Regions from separate parts of the Homo sapiens genome. Here all the other regions are linked to region 1. Evidence: promoter capture Hi-C in human tissues and cell types (Jung and others, 2019). All regions are on one chromosome and are shown on one strand. Each heading gives the region's core, a stretch centred on a gene start or on the middle of the fragment in contact. The rest is flanking DNA. Distances are from core to core; before and after follow the strand shown.

Region 1 (3,985 bases), core at 921-3,420:
AGTTTGAGACCTGGGAAACATAGCAAGACCCCCCCACGGCCCCACCAAATCTCTATTAAAAAAACAAAAAACAAAACAAACAAACAAAAAAAACCAAGGCCAGCCACGGTGGCTCACGCCTGTAATCCCAGCCCTTTGGGAGGCCAAGGTGGTTGGATCACCTGAAGTCAAGAGTTTGAGACCAGGCTTGCCAACATGGCAAAACTCTGTATCTACTAAAAATACAAAAAAAAAAAAAAAAATTAGCCGGGCGTGGTGGCAGGTGCCTGTAATCCCAGCTACTCAGGAGGCTGAGGCAGGGGAATCGCTTGAACCCGGGAGGCGGAGATTGCAGTAAGCCAAGATCGTGCCATTGCACTCCAGGCTGGGCGACAGAGCAAGTCTGTCTAAAACAAAAAACAAAAAAACAAAACAAAAAAAAACGTCTGGGCATCATTTGCAGAAATCCAAACACAACAGTGGGATCTGGGAAGAATCGTGCTTCAGCGTGGCCTCCTGGTCCCGAGGCTGATGGCCGGTGGTTGAAGGAAGAAGGATTTCTATCCCAGGCAGGGTCCTTGGAGCAAAGTCCCTGGATGACACCCTCGCCCTAGATCCACGCGGCCCCTCCCTGGGTCCCTTCCCACCTACCCGGCTGGTTTCAGGCTGCGAGTCCTGAGACAGTCCACTTCCCCTCCGGGGGGCCCTCCCGGGTTTCCCCTCGTAGCCAGATTATTATTACAAAAGCCAATCCAACCCGTTTGGGTGTTGAAAGGCGCTTTTAATAAATTGTGCGAAGAAGCCATAAACTGTGTCTCTCGCAGGAGAGGCTTTGAAGTCAGAGGACAGGCTGGGTACACTACACCCAGGCCGGTGGTGGTTCCCGCTGTCAGGTGGTGTTGGTACTAAGAATGCCAGATAATAATAAAACATAATAATGACCCTGGGATTAGGTGTTAGAATGAAGGCACAGTGAGCCCCGGAACAGGGTCACCCACTGGATAAGCGCTCACTAAACGGCAGCTAAAGCAGCTGTCAGTACTCTCTCTGTCTGGAGGAATGAGGAAGGGGAAACTGAGTCCTGGAGCCCTCCCCCCCCCCCCCAGGCGCGCGGTCGCACCAGCCAGCCCTCCCCGGGCCGGGCCAGGACGTTCTCACCACTCGTGCCCTGCTCCCCCTTCCCTGTCCCCCGCCGGACCTCTCCCACGACCGGGGAGGAAGTGGGAGAAACGGACAGGGGAAAAAAAAAAGTCGCGCTGAACCAACGCCTCCCCACTCCCCACCTCCGCCCCTCGCGAGCCATGCAGACCCCCTTGTGCCAAGGAGCGGCCCGCGCGGACCAGGCGTCCAGGGCCCGGTCCCCGTCCCGCCCCGCGGCCCGCAGCCGGGTGGGGGAACTCGCGAAGCCGGGAAAACAACCGCCCTCCCCGCCCCTCGCCAACCCCTTCCCCCGCTGACGCCCCTAGCGCAGCGGGGTGGAGGCGACTCCTTTATATAATCGCGGGAGGGCAGGTTGGTGGTTTCATTTAGGGACCCGGGAGCCCCGCGGACCCGGGCTGTCCTTGGCAAGGCCACCCCCCGGGGTCCCTGGCGCGGCAAGTCCCACTGAGGCCCGGGGAGGCCCAGGGCCTGGCCTTGCGGGGGGATCCCCACCGCCTCACCCCCAACCCACCCCCGGCAGCCCAGGCCGCGCGACCCACACGCCCGCGTCGCTCCTCGCTGTGCGCACCGCGCTCCCCGCCCCCGCTGCCATCCTGCCACGCCCCGGGCGTCGGGGGCACAGCCCGCGCCCCCCCGCACCCCGCCCCTGCGCAGAGGCTGGGGGCCTGTTTATCTGGAGGCCCCCACCCCCCCTCCACCCCGGGGGGCCCGCTCCCCCCGCGCCCCGGGGAGCTCTGGGGCCAGATAAGCTGGCAAGCTGGCACGGCGCCGCGCGGCGGGGCGGAGAGGTCAGAGGCGGGGGGGCGCGCCGGGGCGGGCCGGACCCCCCCCCCCGACTTGACAAAACCTAATAACAGCCCGGTCTCCCCGGCGCAGCGGGCGAAGCCCCACGGGAGGGCAGAGACGTGGCAAGAGGGGACCTGCCGAGCCTGTTCTGGCCTCCGAGGCCAGGCTGGGGGGGGCGGGCTGGGCGTGGGGGGGCCGGCGGCTGCGGCACCTTTAAGACAAGGGAGGACCCCTCTTGCCCTCGGAGAAACCAGGAAGGGAGTCGCGAGCATCATACGGGGCTTTGGCTGTACTGTACAGTTACTGTAGGGGCAGTGACGCCGCCGCCGCCGCGCGAGGGAGCGACCAGGGCAGCGCGACGCGGGCAGAGCGAGCGCCGCGGACCCCGGAGGCGAGCGGCCGAGGGAGCCCAGTCCCAACTTCGGGCCCCGGCCCCGCGCGCCCCGGCCCGGCCCCGCGAGGTAAGTCAGCGCCCGGCGCGGCCCCCGGCACGGGGTGCAGGGCGGGGACGGGCGGGGGTCGCTGCGGCCACCGCTGCCCCCTCGGGAAGGGGAGATCCGGGGAGCCGGGGACGTTCCCCCAAGTTTCAGAGGAAGGGGTGGTTGGCAGCTGCCCGGAGGCTGGAGGCGCCCTGGATCCCGAGCGCGGGGAGGGGGCGCCGCCCGGGAAGGGGGGATTGGGGGCTAAGTGCATGAGCTTGTGCGCCAGCCCCCCCCAACCCGGGTGCATGGCTTTTCGGGGCTCCCAGGCGCGCGGGGAGCGGGGGAGGGGAAGCAGGGCTGCATTGAGGGTGGGGGGAGCCGGCGTGGGGAGATAGGGGGGCGCGTCGCCTGCTAAGTTTCCAGCTGAAGACGAGGGGCGCTCTCGCCCCCCGGGGGCCTATTCGGTGCTGCGTGCATACGTTGGAGTTGGCCAGGATTGAGCTCCATGGGGGATGGGGGGGAGGGGGCTGAAAAAACAGGGAGGGGGGCTTCGGAAAGGAGGGGGAAGGGGTGGGGTGTCCGGGTGGGCGGGCAGGGCCGCAGGGACCTCTGGGCTTCGTAGTCCCTCCGCCGTTTGCAGCCGGCAGGTGGCAAGCGGCTTGGACTACAAGTCCCAGGGTGCCCCGCGCCGACAGCCCGCCGCGGCCTGCGGGTAGGGGCGGTGCGGAGGAGGGGCGGTGAGCGGCGGGCCGGAGAGCCAATGGGCGCGGGCCGATCGCGCGGCGCGGCGCGGGGGCGGGGCCAGCCCGCCAGGGGGCGGGGCCTGGAGCCGGGCTCCCCTCGCCGGGGGCCGGTGGCGGTCCCGGCTTCCGGCTGCGCGGCCCGCGGGCCGGCCCCCTCCCCGCCCCGGGGCCCCTCCCCGCCTGGTTGTGTAACCGTCCCCAGCCCCCCTCCCCTCGGCCCCCCGCCCGTGGGGGGGGGGTCACCCTCCCCGCGCTCCCCGGGGAGGGCGGCGGCCCGGGCGGCCGCGCGGTGCAGGCGAGCCCGGGGATGCGCGGCCTAGCGCAGGCCGGGCCCGGGCGTGGGGGAGGCGGGCGGGCGGACCCAGATCCGGGGTAATTTGCATCGCCCTCCCCCCAGCCCGGGTGGGGATTGGCCGCCGGCGGCGGGGGGTGGCGCGGGGCCAGGCTCACTGCCGCCTCCCGGCCCCTCGGAGGGAGCCAGCCCAGCCGCAGCCGCCGCCACCGCCGCCGCCGGGGCCGGGCCCCCTCGCCGCTGCCCCGGGAAGGAGGTAGGAGCCCCCCGCGCGGGCGAGGCGGCGGGGGACCGCGGGCCGGGCGGGGGCCGCGCGCTGCGGCCGGGGCGGGGGAGGGGGCCGCTTCCTGCCCCCGCCCGGGCCTGACTCAGCCCCGGGTGGGGGGCCTGGCCTGGCCCCTCGCCCTGCCCGGACGGCCGTCCGGCTCCGACCCGCGGGAGGGGGCGGAGAGAGCACCCCAGTCCCCGCCGTCCGCGCCCCCAAAGCGCGTGACCCCGTCTCCTCTGGCCCGGACCCCCCCTCCTTTCCCTTGACGCCACCACCACGTGCGAAGCCTGAGCCCGGGCAGGGGAGGGGGGAGCTGGTGGGATCCAGCCCCCTC
Region 2 (3,985 bases), core at 596-3,095, 390 kb before region 1:
GTCTCAATCTCCTGACCTCGTGATCCACCCGCCTCGGCCTTCCAAAGGGCTGGGATTACAGGCATGAGCCACCGTGCCTGGCCTTTTTTTCTTTTTTTAATAAGACAGGGTCTGGCTCTGTTGCCCAGGCTGGAGTGCAGTGGCGTGATCCTAGCTTACTGCAGCCTCCAATTCCTGGGCTAAAGCAATCCTCCCACCTTGGCCTCCCAAAATGTTGGGACTGCAGGCCTGAGCCACCCGTCCAACCCATGATATTTCAATTTCAGTCTTGGGGTGGGCTGTTTCCTCACCTGGAGGCTTCTCCTCCATCAGTCTCTGTGTATCTCATTCCAACTCCTTCTTTTTTGAGGCAGAGTCTCCCTCTGTTGCCCAGGCTGAAGTGCAATGGCGAGATCTCGGCTCACTGCAACCTCCACCTGCCGGGTTCAAGCGATTCTCCTGCCTCAGCCTCCCGAGTAGCTGGGATTACCGGTGCCCATAGAGACAGGCTTTCACCATGTTGGCCAGGCTGGTCTCAAACTCCTGACCTCAAGTGATCCGCCGGCCTCGGCCTCCCAAAGTGCTGGGATTAGAGGCATGAGCCACCACGTCTGACCCCCAACTCCCATTTTTTGAGGCTTGTTTTAACTGTCACTTTGTGTATCTTCTTTGTGGATTGCACAGACCAAAGTACGCCACTATTAACTGGTGTCCACCAAAGTGGATCCCCAATCCCCAGGTCCCAATTGGGTGCATTGGGTGCATCCTCTTTTTTTTTTTTTTTTTTTTTTTTTGAGACGGAGTCTCGCTCTGTCGCCCAGGCTGGAGTGCAGTGGTGAGATCTCGGCTCACTGCAAGCTCCGCCTCGCGGGTTCACGCCATTCTCCTGCCTCAGCCTCCCGAGTAGCTGTGAGTACAGACGCCTGCCACCATGCCCGGCTAATTTTTTGTATTTTTAGTAGAGACGGGGTATCACCGTGTTAGCCAGGATGGTCTCGATCTCCTGACCTTGTGATCCGCCCGCTTCGGCCTCCCAAAGTGCTGGGATTACAGGCATGAGCCACCGCGCCCGGCCCAGGTGCATCCTCTTAAACAGCTCCTACCTAGGGTACGTGGTGATGGTGGCGGGGGGGTGCTTCAGGCACCAAAACAGGCCAGATCGTGGGGGCCTCCAATACCCAACATTGAATTGGGATTTTATCACGTAAGCTCTGGGGAGACAGAGAAGGTTGGAATTTTTTTTGTTTTGCTTGAGACAGGGTCTCTCTCTGTCGCCCAGGCTGGAATGCAGTGGCTTGATCACAGCTCACTGCAGCCTCGACCTCTTGGGTTCAAGCGATCCTCCCGCCTCTGCCTCCCAAGTAGCTGAGAGGCGCGCGCCACCACCCTCGGCTAATTTATTTTATTTTATTTTTTTTTTTTTTATAGAGACGAGGTTTTGCCATGTTGCCAGGCTGGTCTCCAACTTCTGGGATCAAGCAATCCTTCCGCTTGAGCCTCCAAAGTGCTGTGATTGCAGGCGTGAGCCACCGCGCCTAGTTTAGGTTGAGCAGCGAAAGGGATAGGGCCCAGTGCTTTCTCTGCGAGGTTCAGTTGGCCTGTCCCTGTCCTATCACCGTTTGTCACCGTTTGGGGAGCGCCACGGAATGCCCTGTCTCCAATCGAGAGGTGCACTCGTCGCCCTGGCAACGGAGTCCGGAAGAACCACAGAGACGCGGCTCCAGCGTACAGAGCGGCCGCCCTGGGCCAGCAAGGCACCGAGCGCTAGAGAGGCACGTCTAGTCGATTGTCACGTGGCAGGCCAGGGGAAGGCGGGACTTCCGGCGGCGAGGTAAATTTTTTTTTTTTTTTTTTTTTTTTTTTTAATTTTCTTCCGGTGGCTGGTCTCCGGCGGCCCCGTCCCCGACTGGGCCCCGTGCCCCCCCGCCCCCGCGGCCCCCCGCCGCCGGGCCAGCCGCCACCATGAAGAAATTCTTTCAGGAGTTCAAGGCCGACATCAAGTTCAAGAGCGCGGGACCCGGTCAGAAGCTCAAAGAGTCCGTGGGGTGCGTGAGGAACGCAGGGGCTTGAGGCCCTGCGGGGCGGGGACGGCCGGGGAGAGAGATCTGGGGCCTTGGGCGGCTCGGGAGATCGGAGAGGATGAGGGGCTGGGAGCGGCACGCGAGGGTCAGGGGAGGGGGAGAGGCGCCGGGGGCGGACGAAGTCGGGCCGAGGGTGGGCGTCAGGGGGAGGGGAGAGAGATCTGGGGGCGGGGCAGGAGGGGGCGGGTATGACCCGGGGGCGCGGCGGGGGAGGCGAGGGGAGGGGAACTAGCGCAGGGGGCGGGGCGGGAGGGGAGGTCTCGGGGGCGGGGCCGCAGGAGGGTCCGATGCAGTGGCGGGGGATTAGGGCGACGGGGCTGTAGGCAGTTGGGGGTCAGTGGAACGACCTTTGGGGAAAAACGGGATCATGAGTCCTGAGCCGGGTGGTGAGGGAGAGCTCTGTCTGGGGACCCGGCTGGCCGAAGAGGCCGGGATGATTTGGGGCAATCTAGGTGACCATGGATGGGAGCTGAGCTTGGAGGAGGACGCACAGCTGTGGGGTGGGGTGGTGAAGAGTTGTTTTGAGGTATCCATGGGAAGAGGGGTTCTGGATTTGGTATCTGGAGCACGTGGGAGGCTGATGGGAGACTAGAAAGAGTCTGGAAGGCCAGGGAGGCCGGGGTGGGCAGCGTCGTCAGTGACCTGGGATGTCCTGGCGAATTGAGAGGGAGGGGCTGAGGAAGGTGTGTGAGGAGAGTGGAGGTGAGGGATTCTGACAGATGGACTCTTACCCGGGAGGGGCCTGAGAGGAGAAGACGGGTGAGACAGACGCGTCTTAGCAGGCTGGGAGAAAGAGCTTCTCTGCGAGGCTTCTCTGCCACGTCACTGTGCCAAGTGGATTATGGAAGTGGGAGAGGAGGGGAAAGGAGATAGATGCCGGGCAGGCTTCCGGATTGTCTAGGGAGGACTTGGAGAGAAGGGCCTGAGCAGGGCTGAGCCAGCTGGGAGGGCCGGGGAAGAAGTGGAGCTAGGGAAGGTGCAAGGCTGAGGGCTGTTGGGTTGAGAAAAGGGAAACTGGAGAGCTGGGGCCGCTGCAGGGAGCTGGCTGGCCAGAGGGTGGTGGGGACTGATGGAGAGGGACTGAGGAAGTCAGCCAGGCAGCCAGGACACGGGTCTGTAAGCAATAGTGGAAGGGATTGTGAGGGAGTGGGGGCTGGGAGAGGCAGGGAGGTGGCAGGAAGTGGGGGTCAGGAATCACGGGGCAGTGGGGTGGTGATGGAGGTAGGGGCATAGTGAGGACGTCAGGGTTCCTGGGGGAGAGCAGGAGAGCAAAGGCTGAGTGAGGGAGGGAGAGGGGTCAGGGAGAGAAGGGGGCAAATCGGGGGAGCCCTTCATTGATTCAACCAATAGTGGGTGGGGGGTGCTGGGGCCACTGGGACTGGGCATGATAGGAAGGATGCAGGGTATCGGGGTGATGGCTGGATCAGCCCAGAGCCTGGGCGGAGAGGGGAAGGTTGGAGGGGAAGGTTGGGAAAGGAAGCGGTGCGGAGGTCCCTTGTGGAGCGAGACTGCATATCCAGGGTGTGTGGGGTGGGTGGGCACCAAGTCCTGTTTTAGGCTGCAGTGGTGGACAGGAGAAGGCCTCTGCTGTCCCAGGGCTCACCTTCTAGAGGGAGCCGATGGACAAATAAACCAACAGACCTTGGATGAGCGCTCAGGCGATGAGTGCTTGGATGAGTGCCCAGGGCCTCCAAGGAGGGTGAGCAGGGGCCGTCAGGTGGTTTGGGAAGGCCTCTCCCAGGACACAGTGAGACTCAGCTGTGGGGAAATCTGCCCCTCCTTCTCTCCCTGCGGCAGCTCTAGCCCTTTCCAGACCCCCATCCTCCTCCCACTCCCCCGGAGAACATTCTGGGCAGAAGGTGCAGACAGTGCAGGGGCCTGCAGTGGGGAGCAGCTGGGGTGTGGGAAGAACTGCGGGGAGCCCA
Region 3 (3,985 bases), core at 497-2,996, 370 kb after region 1:
AATTTATTATGTATTTCTATAATTATATGTTTCTTATAATAGCAAACTGTATTATTATTGATAAAATAATATAAAGAAAACAATAACATATCTATACTTACGTAATACAAACGATGGAATATAAATATTATTTGCAATATGATAATAAACAGGTAGTTAATTGCAAATGTTATTGATATGTATTGCGTAGATCAATGTTAATAACATGTATTGTGTAGATCTATATATATATATATTTTTTTTTGATATGGAGTCTCGCTCTGTTGCCCAGGCTGGAGTGCAGTGACACGATCTCAGCTCACTGCAAGCTCTGCCTCCCAGGTTCACCCTATTCTCCTGCCTTAGCCTCCCAAGTAGCTGGGACTACAGGCGCCCGCCACCACGCCTGGCTAATTTTTTGTATTTTTAGTAGAGACGGGGTTTCACCATGTTAACCAGGATGGTCTCAATCTCCTGACCTCGTGATCCGCCCGCCTCGGCCTCCCAAAGTCTTGGGATTACAGGCATGAGCCACCGCGCCCGGCCCTGTGTAGATCAATATTATTTACATGTACTGTGTATATCACTGTTATTGGTATATTTTGTGCATATCAATGTTATTGACATGTAGTGTGTATATCAATGTTATTGACATGTAGTGTGTACATTAATGTTATTGGCATGTAGTGTGTATATCAATGTTATTGGCATGTAGTGTGTATATCCATGTTATTGGCATGTAGTGTGTATATCAATGTTATTGACATGTAGTGTGTGTATCAATGTTAGTTACATGTATTGTGTAGATCAATGTTATTGGTATTCATTGTGTATAGCAATGTGATTGGCATGTATTGCATATAGCAATGCTATTTGTATGTTTTATGTAGATCCATGTCAATGATATAGTATAGATTCATGTTATTGGCATGTATTGTGTATATCCATGTTATTGGCATGTATTGTGCATATCCGTGTTATTGGCATGTATTGTGTATATCCATGTTATTGGCATGCATTGGGTAACTCCATGTTATTGGCATGTGCTGTGTAGGTCCATGTGTGGTTTTTTTTGGGACAGAGTCTCACTCTGTGGCCCAGGCTGGAGGGCAATGGTGCGATCTCAGCTCACTGCAACCTCTCCCTCCTGGGTTCCAGCGATTCTCCTGCCTCAGCCTCCCGAGTAGCCGCGATTACAGGCATGTGCCACCACGCCCAGCTATTTTTTGTATTTTTAGTAGAGACAGGATTTCACCATGTTGGTCAGGATGGTCTTGAACTCCTGACCTCAGGTGATCCGCCCTCTTCGGCCTCCCAAAGTGCCGGGAATATAGGCGTGAGTCACCGCGCCCGGCCAGATCCATGTTATTGTCATGCGCTGTGCAGGTCCCTGTTATTGGCATGTGCTGTTTAGATCCATGTTATTGGCATGTGCTGTGTACATCCATATTATTGGCACGTGCTGTATAGATCCATATTATTGTCATGTGTTGTGTAGATCCATGTTATTGGTATGTGTTGTGCACAGCAATGTTATTGATACGTATCGTGCCTGTCAATCTTACTGACCTAATACGATGGAATGGCGAGCCTGGCTCTGTACTCCCACCCCTGGGCGCGAGGGGGCACTCGAGGCGCTCCTGGCTGCGGGTCGCAAGCAGGCCCCGCCCCCGAGCCCCGATTGGCCGCGCGCCGTCCGCGGCGTCGCACGCACGCAGGCCCCGCCCCGTCCGCCCCGCGCCGGCCCGGCGCGCCCTCCCTTGGCCGGCGGCGCTTGTTGTTCGGCGGCGGCGGTCGCAGCTCGGGTCCCCCTCGGGCGCCCCCGCCGCCGTCCGCGCGCGGCCATGGAGCTGGAGGTACCGGACGAGGCGGAGAGCGCTGAGGCGGGGGCCGTGCCCTCGGAGGCGGCGTGGGCGGCAGAGAGCGGGGCGGCGGCAGGTAACGGCCCGGCCTCCCGGGGCTGCGGCCCGCTGGGCTCGTCCGAGCGCCGAGAGTCGCGGGGCTGCGGGGCCGGGGCGGGGGCTGCACGGTCGCTGCGGGGGCGCCGCCGGTTCCAGGAGCCTGGGGCGGGGCAGTCCCCTGGAGCCGCGGGGAGGACGGGGCTGAAGCCGCGCCGGGAAGCGGGAGGCCTGCGAGGGGCTACCTCCCACCGCTCCCGGGCCGGGGGCGACTCGGCGTGGGCGCCGCTGGGGATCCCCGTTCTGCCTGACCCGCTCCCAGGGGCTGCCCGTCGTGTGAGTGGCGGCTGCTTGGGTGGAGGCGGGGGTCTCTGAGGCCGTGCGTGCCCACCTCCTGATGTCACCTCCCTTTCTGTAAGTCCCCAGACCTGAGTCCGGGTGCGCGACCTTTCCTCACCTTCCTGGGCCTCAGTTTACCTCCCTGCTAAAATGAGGGGAGGAAAAGGGTTACATCTCAAGATGCCTCCACCGCCCCGGCTGTGCACACAGGGTGCCCTGTCGCCCCCTTTTCCTCTCCCCGAGCCTTCCCCCAGGACACACTGGTGGGGCTGCGGGCTGGGCGGGGGGCACGGCTGTCTCATGCCCCCTTTAGCTGCTTCCTGGACCTCCAGCCGGGTAGGTGGCGGCAGCTGGGCCTTCCCTTCTGTGGGGACGGTGTGCAGAGCCCAGAGGAAGGGAACAGTTCCTTCTCAGTCGAGGTCACAAGCTCCCAAATCGGAAGTTTCCGGATTCACAAAATCCTCTGCTCCTCCCAGGCAGCCAGCAGCAGCGTCTCTGTAGACACCCACACGGGCATCCGTCCTCCTTCTCCCCCCAGGCCTCCCGAAGCTTCCTTGGTTGGCAGGCGGGCAAGCGGGCGGGCGGGCGATGCGTGCTGCCTGGGAGTTGGGGAGATGTCTGGAGAGAGAGAGAGTGTGGAAGTCATCAAGTCCCCCCCCCACCCCCCGCCTTGAAAGACACTCGTGGCTTCCCTCCCGGCGGCCATCTGGAACCGCTTGGTAGGTGACCCGGTTCCTTCCCCAGAGCCAGTGGCCTCGCCCCTTTCTTTGCGGGCAGCCGGTGTCCTGGCCTGGCCAGCAAGAGACATGGTGGAGGAACCCAGGCAGGGCACCAGGCCCCAGCCCGGGTTCCTTTCTTGGGCCCCCCAACTTCCGCTGTCAGCCCTCTGACCCCAGCTGGTCAGAGACAAAGTAGCCCAGGACTCGCTGACCAAAAGAAAACCACACCGCGACCATTCATCTTATCAGGGGCTCTGGGAGCACCGGGGACAGATAAAGTTGCCAGCTCCAGACTGAGCATGGTGGTGGGGTGGGAGAGCGGGGGAGTGGGGGGGTGGGGGTGGGGGGCCGGGGAGGGCTGGAAGGTCAGGGTCTGGCATCTCTGCCCATCCCTGAAATCCACAGAAATCTGACCCCAGCTGGCCATATACTGCTTCTGAATGTTTAAAATTCAGAGTTGCCTCACTCCTCCAACGCCATCCCTCCTGATGTTAGCGCTGGTGAGTTTAGGTTGTGCCTGGCTGGGCCACAGAGACGTGAGCACATAAAGGGGCCTGCTTGTTCTTCACCGAGATGGTTTCATGCCTCACTGGGGCTTCTGTGCCTTGGCAGAGGTATTTTGAGTCAGGAAATTAGGGGTGCTGAGCAACGCCCCTGGCTTCTGCCCACTCCATGCCAGGAGCACCTGCCAGTTGTGACAGCCACAAGTGACCCAGACACCGTTCAGTGTCCCCTGGGGGCAGGACGGCCCTGGTGAGAAATGCCACACGTTTATGACTCTGTGAACTGCTTGCTTTTTATCTCTGGTCATCTGGAGTCTCCCCACCCTATGTTGGTATCGGTTTGTAGAGAGGGCGAGCGCCAGGCAGTGGTTAAGGGGGAGCCCCAGAGTTGGTCCCGCCGATGTCCCCCTCCCAGCTCCGCGCTTCAGGTGCTGTGTGGCCGTCACTTCCCCGGGCTTCAGCGTCCCGTCTGTGAAGTGGGGTGATGACCGTGTGTGCTAGGGGCTGAGCCTGGGATGAGTTGGCGCTCGTGCTTGGTGATTGTCGT

The links. The method cuts DNA at HindIII sites, captures the fragments that hold promoters and counts their contacts. A contact is called where the count stands out against the background at its distance.
Region 2: a contact is called between the fragment with the promoter of UBXN6 here and the fragment with the promoter of ZBTB7A in region 1, in 1 of the 25 tissues and cell types used here (bladder).
Region 3: the fragment with the promoter of PIP5K1C here is called in contact with the fragment with the promoter of ZBTB7A in region 1 in 1 of the 25 tissues and cell types used here (stomach).

What each region holds. Positions count from the first base shown.
Region 1 is chr19:4,065,084-4,069,068 of GRCh38, reverse strand. It overlaps ZBTB7A (zinc finger and BTB domain containing 7A), which reads left to right and starts at 2,170. Exons shown (of 3, transcript NM_015898.4): 1 at 2,170-2,387. RefSeq lists silencers at 1,320-1,649, 1,710-1,819, 2,030-2,089, 2,130-2,179, 2,190-2,389 and 3 more. The HindIII fragment of the contact is 23,363 bases long and covers 1-3,985 here.
Region 2 is chr19:4,455,654-4,459,638 of GRCh38, reverse strand. It overlaps UBXN6 (UBX domain protein 6), which reads left to right and starts at 1,845. Exons shown (of 11, transcript NM_025241.3): 1 at 1,845-2,024. The coding sequence starts at 1,942. RefSeq lists an enhancer at 1,584-1,783 and silencers at 1,894-1,943, 1,974-2,043. The HindIII fragment of the contact is 9,046 bases long and covers 1-3,985 here.
Region 3 is chr19:3,698,229-3,702,213 of GRCh38, reverse strand. PIP5K1C (phosphatidylinositol-4-phosphate 5-kinase type 1 gamma) reads left to right here and starts at 1,746. Exons shown (of 18, transcript NM_012398.3): 1 at 1,746-1,917. The coding sequence starts at 1,824. RefSeq lists silencers at 1,498-1,987, 2,068-2,207 and an enhancer at 1,906-2,689. The HindIII fragment of the contact is 9,003 bases long and covers 1-3,985 here.